Linked DNA regions of Homo sapiens: all the other regions are linked to region 1. Evidence: promoter capture Hi-C in human tissues and cell types (Jung and others, 2019). All regions are on one chromosome and are shown on one strand. The core of a region is centred on a gene start or on the middle of the fragment in contact, and the rest is flanking DNA. Distances in the headings are between cores, read along the strand shown. Region 1 holds the start of SOX2 (SRY-box transcription factor 2). Region 2 has its middle 73 kb from the start of ATP11B-DT. Region 3 overlaps CCDC39 (coiled-coil domain 39 molecular ruler complex subunit).

Region 1 (3,749 bases), core at 1,019-3,518:
TTCAAACACAGTAATTTCATGGTTTTTTTTATCTGAACAAAATGGAAAGTTGGGATCGAACAAAAGCTATTATAAATTACCAACGGTGTCAACCTGCATGGCCATTTTTGCTTTTAACAGTAAGTTATAAAATTTAGTACAGTCTAAAACTTTTGCCCTTTTTAAACAAGACCACAGAGATGGTTCGCCAGTACTTATTCTAATTTTTTCCTTTTGTACAATTTTTAAACAATTAAAATGTCCAAATTTGAATAATTTTCTTCTTTTCACGTTTGCAACTGTCCTAAATTTCAGCTGCAGAATCAAAATTCAGCAAGAAGCCTCTCCTTGAAAAATATTGGCAAATTCTCAGCTTATAAACAATGGACATTTTGATTGCCATGTTTATCTCGATAAATACTGTACAAAAGTTGCTTGCAAATATTAAAACATTTTTTTCGTCGCTTGGAGACTAGCTCTAAATATTATTGGTAAAGACTTTTGCAAACTTCCTGCAAAGCTCCTACCGTACCACTAGAACTTTTAAAAAGTTTTTCGTAGCTTTCTTTCCTCCAGATCTATACAAGGTCCATTCCCCCGCCCTCCCCACCCTCCCCAGGTTTTCTCTGTACAAAAATAGTCCCCCAAAAAGAAGTCCAGGATCTCTCTCATAAAAGTTTTCTTGTCGGCATCGCGGTTTTTGCGTGAGTGTGGATGGGATTGGTGTTCTCTTTTGCAGCTGTCATTTGCTGTGGGTGATGGGATTTTTTTTTTTCCTTTTTCTTTTTGAGCGTACCGGGTTTTCTCCATGCTGTTTCTTACTCTCCTCTTTTGCACCCCTCCCATTTCCCTCGTTTTTCTTTGAAAATTTCTCCCCCCTCCAGTTCGCTGTCCGGCCCTCACATGTGTGAGAGGGGCAGTGTGCCGTTAATGGCCGTGCCGGGCACCGGGCCGCTCTGGTAGTGCTGGGACATGTGAAGTCTGCTGGGGGCGGCGGGTTCCGGCACCTCGGCGCCGGGGAGATACATGCTGATCATGTCCCGGAGGTCCCCGGCCTGGCAGGGCGCCCTGGAGTGGGAGGAAGAGGTAACCACAGGGGGGCTGGAGCTGGCCTCGGACTTGACCACCGAACCCATGGAGCCAAGAGCCATGCCAGGGGTGCCCTGCTGCGAGTAGGACATGCTGTAGGTGGGCGAGCCGTTCATGTAGGTCTGCGAGCTGGTCATGGAGTTGTACTGCAGGGCGCTCACGTCGTAGCGGTGCATGGGCTGCATCTGCGCTGCGCCGTGCGCATTGAGGCCCGGGTGCTGCGGGTAGCCCAGCTGGTCCTGCATCATGCTGTAGCTGCCGTTGCTCCAGCCGTTCATGTGCGCGTAACTGTCCATGCGCTGGTTCACGCCCGCGCCCAGGCCGGCGCCCACCCCGACCCCGCTCGCCATGCTATTGCCGCCGGGGGCCAGCAGCCCGCCGGGCAGCGTGTACTTATCCTTCTTCATGAGCGTCTTGGTTTTCCGCCGGGGCCGGTATTTATAATCCGGGTGCTCCTTCATGTGCAGCGCTCGCAGCCGCTTAGCCTCGTCGATGAACGGCCGCTTCTCCGTCTCCGACAAAAGTTTCCACTCGGCGCCCAGGCGCTTGCTGATCTCCGAGTTGTGCATCTTGGGGTTCTCCTGGGCCATCTTGCGCCGCTGCCCGCGGGACCACACCATGAAGGCATTCATGGGCCGCTTGACGCGGTCCGGGCTGTTTTTCTGGTTGCCGCCGGCCGCCGCCGCGGTGGAGTTGCCGCCGCCGCCCCCCGAAGTTTGCTGCGGGCCCGGCGGCTTCAGCTCCGTCTCCATCATGTTGTACATGCGGGCGCTGTGCGCGGGCCCGGCCCGCCGGCGGCCGCCGACCCTCGGCCCGGCCGGGACTTTGGGGGGCCCGCGGGCGGGGGGAGAGGAGGAGGGGAGGCGGGCGGGGGTGTCGGGAGCGCAGGGCTCCGCGAGGAAAATCAGGCGAAGAATAATTTGGGGGAAAAAAAGAGAGAGGCAAACTGGAATCAGGATCAAAAAAAGCGCTTCCCTCCTCCTCTGGCCGATCCTGCCGCCGCCGATGATTGTTATTATTATTTTTTGGAAAGGCTTAAGCCTGGGGCTCAAACTTCTCTCCCTTTCTTTCTCTCTCCTCTTCTTTCTCTCAGTCCTAGTCTTAAAGAGGCAGCAAACTACTTTCCCCCTTTTGCAAACACTCTCTTCTCTGCCTTGACAACTCCTGATACTTTTTTGAACAAGTTAATAGACAACCATCCATGTGACGGGGGCTGTCAGGGAATAAATGGGTTTCTAGCGACCAATCAGCGCGCGGCGGCTCCTCCACTCGAGCCCAGCCTCGCTGCCGGGTTTTGCATGAAAGGGGGCGGGGCCTCCCGCGCCGCCGGCCGCGCGGGGGAGGCCGGGGGAGGAGGGGGCAGGCGAGGAGGGGGAGGAGGCTCCCAGAGCCAGCCTGCCAGCCACTGAGAAACCTTTGTATCCCCTCTCGCAGCAACAGGTCACACCACACGCCTTTTCGAAGGAAGTGGGTAAACAGCACTAAGACTACGTGGGTTTTTTTTTCTTTAAACTTAATATTGATTTACTTTTTGGTGCAGGGTACTTAAATGAGGATGGGACGCGGGAAGCAGCTAAGGTGCGGGGGTGGGGCAGGGCACAGTGGGTGGCTCAGGGCGGCTGTCCAACTCGTATTTCTGGAAACAGCCAGTGCAGGAGTTGGTGTGTCATTGTTCTCCCGCTCATCCACAGCACTCCCCCCCAACTCCAGCCCCTCTGGTGCCGCTCCCGTACTGCGCTCTTCCGCTCTCCTCTCTTACCTTACAGGTGCCAACACTCTCTCACGCCCTTCTCACAGTCCCGACTAGAAGTTAGGAGACCCAAACCTCTGTCCTCAAAACCTTCCTTGCTTCCACGTAACTTGCTCTGTTCTTAAAAATAAATCCTGCTCGGACCATAAGGCAGACTCTAGAGCTGAGAACCAGCAGGCCTTGGTAAGCTGCCATCTCCCTGTCCAACTCAGCTCTTTGGCCCAGGAAACTGCAGCTCTTCCTCTTAGCCCCAGCCACATCTCCCACTAGACTGTCTTCATTCAACCGTAGCAAAGGGGATGCTTCTACTGTCTGCCCCCACTCCCCATTCCCATCCCATGCCTCCCCGTAAGAAGGGTTTCGGTCGTGCGGCTTTCAAATGGGGGCTGGGGAAAGACACAGACGGAAGGGCGCTCAAAAGTGCAGGCGATGGGGGAGGGTGATTTCAACTTCCTGGCATCCCACGGCACTGTATGGAGGTGGCTTTTGGGCCGCAGTCACAAACTCCCTCCCACGCAGAGTTCCCAGGACTCCAGCAGAACCAGCCCTGGCATTTTCCCCGTAGATTTCCATTGTGGTGGCCGCAAAGCCCAGGCCGCGCAAGGCTGGGGCTGCGCCGCAAAGGGGCTCAAGGCCTGGGAGGCGGGGTCGATGCTCTCCAGGCACAGGTGCAGGCAGCGCACACTGGGAGAAGGCGGCCGGGACTGGGGAAGGGGGAGCCCAGCAAGGCCCGGGTTAGAGGAGGATGAGATGGGGGCGGGGGTAGGGGCTCAGGAATCTTGCCCGCCCAGGACCCAAGAGGGTAATTTTAGCCGCTCTCCCATTGTCCCGACGTAAAGATTTCAATAGGTAGGCGCTCAATGCGGAGGGCAATGGCAGCACGTCCGTTACAAATAGGTAGTTTTGTTTCTCTTGTTGTCGCTACACGGAG
Region 2 (3,548 bases), core at 52-2,551, 1.0 Mb before region 1:
CCAATGGGGAATGGAGCCTAGTTCAGGACCTTCGTCTCATGAATGAGGCCATAGTCCCAATTCATCCAGTGGTCCCTAATCCCTGCACCTTGCTGACACAGATACCGCAGGAAACTAAATGGTTTATAGTCCTAAATTTAAAGGATGCCTTTTTCTGCATACTGTTACATCCTGACTCTCAATACCTGTTTGCCTTTGAGGATTCCCCCCAGTCAGACCGCCCAGTTAACATGGATGGTGCTGCCTGAGGGATTTCAAAACAGCCCTCACTTGTTTGGACAAGCACTGTCAAAGGACCTTTCTAAGTTCTCCCATCCTCAGGTCAGGGTCTTGCAGTGTGTAAATGACACTTTCCTCTGTGCCCCAATCAAGAAAGTCTCAGGAAGGCACTTAGACTCTCCTCAATTTCTTAGCTAAAAGAAGTATAGGGTTGGCCGGGCGCGGTGGCTCACGCTTGTAATCCCAGAACTTTGGGAGGCCTAGGTGGGTGGATCACTTGAGGACAGGAGTTCGAGACCAGCCTGGCCAACATGGTGAAACCTGTCTCTACTAAAAATACAAAAAAAAAAAATTAGCTGGGCATGGTGATGGGCACCTGTAATCCCAGCTACTCAGGAGGCTGAGGCAGGAGAATCTCTTGAACCCAAAAGGAGGAGGTTGCAGTGAGCCGAGATCACACCATTGCAGTCCAGCCTGGACAACAATAGTGAAACTCTGTCTCAAAAAAAAAAAAAAAAAAAAAAGAAGAATAGGGTCTCAAAATCTAAAGCTCAGCTCTCTCAGAATTCAGCAAAGTACCTAGTTCTGGTCTTATCAAAAGGGAGCAGAGCACCTGGTGAGGAAAGGATTAAGCCCATTTCCTTTAACAGTTAAGAAAATTCTTAGGCATTATTGGATTTTGTAGACTGTAAGTACCTGGGCACAGGAAAGTAGCTCATCCTTTATACCACCTCATAAAAGAAACTCAGACAGTTAAAACTCAACCCCCTTTAGGAACCTAAAAACACAAAAGCCTTAAACTAGCTAAAGCAAGCCTTACTTAAAGCAACAGTTCTGGCCAGGTGAGGTGGCTCACGCCTGTAATGCCAGCAATTTGGGAGGCTGAGGAGGGTGGATCACAAAGTCAAGAGATCAAGACCATACTGGCCAACATGGTGAAACCCCGTCTCTACTAAAAATACAAAAATTAGCTGAGCGTGGTGGCACGTGTCTGTAGTCCCAGCTACTAGGGAGGCTGAGGCAGGAGAATCGCTTGAACCCAGGAGGCAGAGGTTGCAGTGAGCCGAGATAGCGCCACTGCACTCCAGCCTGGCGACAGAGCGAGACTCGGTCTCCCCCCCAAAAAAAGGACCAGTTCTTAGTCTTCCCATAGGGAAGGTATTTAATCTTTATGTATTGAAAAGGAAGAAAATAGCCCTGAAAGTTTTAACTAGGGCTTGAGGTCCAGCTCAACAGCCAGTGGGTTACTTAAGCAAGGATCTTAACTTGGTGGCTTAAGAATAGTCAGCCTGCCTCCAAGCAGTTACAGTGGTGGCTTTGCTGGTGCCAGAAACCTCTGGGTTAACCATGGGAAATAACTTAGCTGTGCCAGGCGCGGTGGCTCACGCCTGTAATCCCAGCACTTTGGGAGGCCGAGGCGGGCGGATCACGAGGTCAGGAGATCGAGACCATCCTGGTTAACACGATGAAACCCCGTCTCTACTAAAAATACAAAAAAATTAGCCGGGCGTGATGGCGGGCGCCTGTAGTCCCAGCTACTCGGGAGGCTGAGGCAGGAGAATGGCGTGAACCCGGGAGGTGGAGCTTGCAGTGAGCCGAGATCGCGCCAAGGCACTCCAGCCTGGGTGACAGAACGAGACTCCGTCTCAAAAAAAAAAAAAAAAAAAAAAAAAAAGAAATAACTTCGCTGTTTAACCCCACACAATATAACAGGAATGTTGTCCACTAAGGAAAGTCTCTGGCTAACAGACAATTGCCTCCTCAAATATCAAGCTTTGCTGCTAAAGGGATCTGCAGGCCAGTTAAAAACCCACCCTTGCCTGAGCCCAGTCACTTTCTCCCAGAGAAAACTGGAGAACCTGAACATAATTGTGAACAGGTAGTGGTGCAAACTGGAAAAACAAATGGTAAGAATTACTGCTTATCTTATCTGCAAAGTGTTAATTCGTGAAAAAGGATTTTCTTAAAGAGCACTCAGCTTAATTAAAAATGGATATCCAAGCTATAAGTACATCCAAAAGGCCTTCATGTTTTTCTCTTCATAAATCTAGTTTTCCTGGAAAAGGTTTTTTTTCTCACTCGACTGAATTACTTTTCTCCACTCTGTCTTGCCACTCTTGTTGCATGCATGAAAGCCCCTAGAATGACTTCTGGTGGCCTGGGCTGCCTTGGGACATCAGAAAAGGTGCCACAAATTCCATTCTGGGAAAAATCTCTGTTTTCCTTATGGAACCCCTGGAATTAGAGGTGAGTAAGTACCTCTCCAAATCTGTCCTTGTCTTCTGGCTATGCTTGTTTATTAGGCCCTGGAAATTGTACTCCTAGCCCTGTTCTTATAGGGCCTCACCCAGAGGCCAATAATCTAATTGGGAAATTGGCAAATGTAAGTTTTATAACTACTGGATCTTATTCTGTTTGTCTGTGTGGTTATATATGTGTTATGTGTGCAATGTCTATTAAAAAGAGCTCTAATTAATTGGCCTAAGAAAAATAAGCACTTAAATCAAATATTTTTAAAGGAAAAGTAAAAGCTGTGGTACCTTTCAGATCACATGACTTTAATCTTTAAAAATAAAAGCGGTCTTAGGAATTATTGGTAAAATACAAATGTCTTCAAGGTGTAAAAATGTGGTCTAAATTATGCAGGTCAGATACTAGGTTTGCTAAATGTTTTAAGGTTGTAAAGTGCTTCTTTTTTTTTTTGTTTTTTGTTTTTTTGAGAGAGTCTTGCTCTGTCACCCAGGCTGGGGTGCAGTGGCCTGATCTCGGCTCACTGCAAGCTCCGCCTCCCGGATTCACGCCAGTCTCCTGCCTCAGCCTCCCGAAAAGCTGGGACTACAGGCGCCCGCCACCACGCCCAGCTAATTTTTTTTGTGTTTTTAGTAGAGACAGGGTTTCACCGTGTTAGCCAGGATGGTCTCAATCTCCTGACCTTGTGATCTGCCCGCCTCAGCCTCCCAAAGTGCTGGGATTACAGGCGTGAGCCACCGCGCCTGGCCGTAAACTGCTTCCTTAGCCTTTAAGAACTTTCAACTTGCCTGCTTCACAACTGGTAAGGCCAAGAACATGTTGAAGTAGCCATGTCCCTAACTATGCTAGAAGGAGTCAAACTTCATCTGCATCCAGCGCATGATTTAAAAAACGTAGCAGGTTTTACATTAAAGTTAAAAATTGCTAAGCATTACCATTATGACTTGTAATTAAAACCACTGAACATGGATTTGCATGCAAGACATATAAAAACAGTAAAATATGTTTTTAGTTAAAAATTATACGATAGCATGAAAATATACATTTTGCTTAGGAATAAAGAATTGTCTTACAATTAA
Region 3 (3,425 bases), core at 919-3,418, 1.1 Mb after region 1:
GACTATCCATGTGTATTATATTACAGACATAGCAGAAAGAGAGATAATAAAACATAGGATTATTTTAAATATCTGAGTATATAATTTAATGTAAGATATATATAATACAGCATGTATTTAATATTTTTGTCAATATTTAAAACATACATTTATATACCTTTTTTCTTTTTTGCAGAATGATCTTTATTTTATCAAGAAGGCACATAGTAAAAACAGTGATGAAAAACAGTCCCTTATGACCAAAATAAATGAACTAAACCTTTTCATCGACAGATCAGAGAAAGAACTTGATAAAGCCAAAGGTTTTAAGCAGGTGCAGTAAAATTGTATGCATATGTAGTATTGAAAACCATGTTTCCATGTTAATTGTAGACAAATGAAAAAATATAGCAAATTATGAAAAAGAAAATGTCACTATAATCACTATACCCAATATAAACAGTGTTAAAGTCTATAATTTCCCTCCAGTCTTGTAAAGAAATTTGGCTTTTTATGTTGTATTAAAAAATTTCTATATATCATATGCTTCCTAAAACATTAACTATTCTTTCAAAAACATTTTTGAAGGCTTTCTATAAGTCCATTGCATGAAATTACCATAGTTTATTTAACCATCCCCTATTTTTTAGATTTTTGTTTCTTTCTAATGCTTGGCTATTGTAAATAGTACTACATGTACAGTGCAGTTGTTCAATTAGTTGTTCATTGTGCAGTTATTCAGTTAGTTCCTTTGGATAAATTCCTAGCTATATAATTATGATTCAGAAAGAAATGAATATTTTTAGCGTCTTGAAACAATTTTTAAGCCCAATTCTCTTCTAGAGGGTACCATTAATACTCCTATCAGTAGTATGTAAGCATTCTATTTTATTCACTACCACTGAGGCTGGATATCCTAATTTAAAAAATTGTTGCCAATTTGATAAACATGGTATCTCATTGTTTTAGTCTGCATTTTTAAAATTGGTGGTTTAAAAATATTTTGTTTAATGATACATTTTCAAACATTTATGTTTAAATAAAAATGTTTAAAACACTTTTCTCTGTTATGTCATGTTCCATATTTTTTTTCTTTGGAGCTCTAGTTTGTATTCTTGGCCCATTTTTTTTCCGCTGGGAAGTTTACATATATAAATTATAAAAGATTTTCATATGTAAAAATATTGTCTCTGTCGGCCGGGCACGGTGGCTCACACCTGTAATCCCAGCACTTTGGGAGGCCGAGGCGGGTGGATCATGAGGTCAGGAGATCGAGACCATCCTGGCTAACATGGTGAAACCCCATCTCTACTAAAAATACAAAAAATTAGCCGGGCGTGGTGGCGGGCGCCTATAGTCCCAGCTACTCCGGAGGCTGAGGCAGGAGAATGGCGTGAACCCAGGAGGTGGGGCTTGCAGTAAGCGGAGATCGCACCACTGCGCTCCAGCCTGGGCGACAGAGTAAGACTCCGTCTCAAAAAAAAAAAAAAATTATCTCTGTCATAAATATTGTAAATATTTTCCCCATTTACCTTTACATTTTTATTCAGTGTTTGTGACACAAAACTTTTTTTAAAACATCAAATCTCTTAGTTTTTTTTTCTTTTTAATTTTTATGCTTAGAAACTTCTTGGTTACACTAAAAATCAGACAAATGTTTACTATTTCTAGTAGTTACGTTGATTTCATCTCTTAAGATTTTTCATTCATCTAGAATATATTTTTGGTGCACGTGAGATGTAAGTATCTAATCTCTCCAAATGAAAAGCCACGTTTATGAAACAATAAAATCTTATATCCTGGAGTGTTTTTTTCTGGGGTTTCTATTCTGAAAATTGATTGATATGTGTACTCTTATGTCAGTACTCTATTCACGACTGAATTGTTTTAAAATAAAAATATATTTCCACATTATTTTGTGAGATTCAGAGTATAAAAATGGCCATTCATAGGGCTTTATGTTTTTTGGATAGCGTAAGTTTAACTTCAGGAATAACTTCTTCCCTTTGTTTTTTATAATAGCAAAGCTTGACTTTAAAATTGAATTATGAAAAAGATTTGGAATAACTATAAACCCTTTTCTTAAAAGAAAAAAAAAAACTATGATCAATTTTAGGCCTAGCTAATATCTTAGTCAATGGTTAAATTGGAAAAAGGTATATTTTCAAGTTTTACTTATATAGCAATAAAAAAAATTTTGGTTTTGCAATTAAAAATAATTTCAATATTTGACCATTTTGTTACGTTGATAGGATTTGATGATAGAGGACAATCTTTTAAAACTTGAAGTTAAGCGTACTCGAGAAATGCTTCACAGTAAGGCAGAAGAAGTTCTTTCCCTAGAAAAAAGAAAACAGCAATTATACACAGCAATGGAAGAGCGAACTGAAGAAATCAAGGTTCATAAAACAATGCTTGCGTCACAAATAAGATATGTTGATCAAGAACGGGAAAACATAAGGTAATTTTCAGTTTTAAAACTGCTGAGGAATTAAAAAAACAGGATGATGTCAGGAGAACTAGCTGCCCCCTCTAACATCCCGGATGTGCATCGTTTTTACTCATTCGAAATGGCTTTTCATATAAGAAAGACATAGGGCATGTTATAGCCATAAATCTAGGCTCTTCTTTTGGTTAATTCTTCATTCTTTAGATTGTCCCTTTTACATTAAGATCACTAATCTACTTGGAATTGCTTTTTATGTATGGTTTGTGGTAAAGTCCAATAACACGTCTTTTTAAAAATAGATATTCAATAGCTGCATCTATTGAAGTGATTTTGCACATCTTTTATAAGATTATTTCTGGCTACATGTTTTTTCTTTAATGTTACTGTCAATTTCATTTTTGGTTTGCTGCTGGTATGTAGAAATGCAGTTAATTTCTGTATATTAAGTATTCAGCAACCCTGCTTAACAATCTTGTTCTAACAATCAGTACATTCTAATTTTCTATATACTGTATTTCATTTATATTATTTTCAAATAATAACAGTTTTATTTCTTGCTTTCCAATCTTTATAACTTTTCTTTTTTCCCCAGTTCAATACTGAAGAGCAGTGTTGATTACAGGTATCCTTGTCTTATTATCTGATCTCAAAGGGAAAGCTTTCATTGTTTTTGCATTAAATATAAGGTTTACTGTAGTTTATTTCTATTTTTTAGATACCTTTTACCACATTGAGCTCCTATCTATTTTTATCCTTTACTAAGAAGTTATTTTGTTTAATCAAGAATGGATGTTGACTTTTATTATATGCTTTCTCAGCACTTATTGACAAGATGTATCTTCTTCAATCTGTTGTGTTTAATCATATTGATCAATTTTTCAAAGTCAAACCAACCTTACATTCTAGAATAAACCCAACTTGTCTGTTACATATTATCTTTTGCATACATCTAGATTTTGTTAGGGAATATTTTAATACAATTTTTGCATCTATGTTC

The links. Contacts are between HindIII fragments. The study calls those that stand out against the background at their distance.
Region 2: a fragment that was not itself captured here is called in contact with the fragment with the promoter of SOX2 in region 1 in 1 of the 25 tissues and cell types used here (pancreas).
Region 3: a contact is called between a fragment that was not itself captured here and the fragment with the promoter of SOX2 in region 1, in 1 of the 25 tissues and cell types used here (lymphoblastoid cells).

What each region holds. Positions count from the first base shown.
Region 1 is chr3:181,710,444-181,714,192 of GRCh38, reverse strand. SOX2 (SRY-box transcription factor 2) reads right to left here and starts at 2,268. Exons shown (of 1, transcript NM_003106.4): 1 at 1-2,268. The coding sequence starts at 1,832. The coding sequence ends at 879. The region is part of intron 6 of SOX2-OT (SOX2 overlapping transcript); the gene reads right to left. RefSeq lists enhancers at 427-1,278, 1,279-2,132, 2,133-2,985, 2,986-3,749, a silencer at 2,368-2,427 and a promoter at 2,007-3,040. The HindIII fragment of the contact is 19,833 bases long and covers 1-3,749 here.
Region 2 is chr3:182,718,820-182,722,367 of GRCh38, reverse strand. No RefSeq gene overlaps it. Among named protein-coding and RNA genes, the nearest start is that of ATP11B-DT, 73 kb to the left of the region's middle. The HindIII fragment of the contact is 5,156 bases long and covers 1-3,548 here.
Region 3 is chr3:180,641,008-180,644,432 of GRCh38, reverse strand. It overlaps CCDC39 (coiled-coil domain 39 molecular ruler complex subunit), which reads left to right. Exons shown (of 20, transcript NM_181426.2): 12 at 176-313; 13 at 2,232-2,440. Among named protein-coding and RNA genes, the nearest start is that of CCDC39, 37 kb to the left of the region's middle. The HindIII fragment of the contact is 4,981 bases long and covers 1-3,425 here.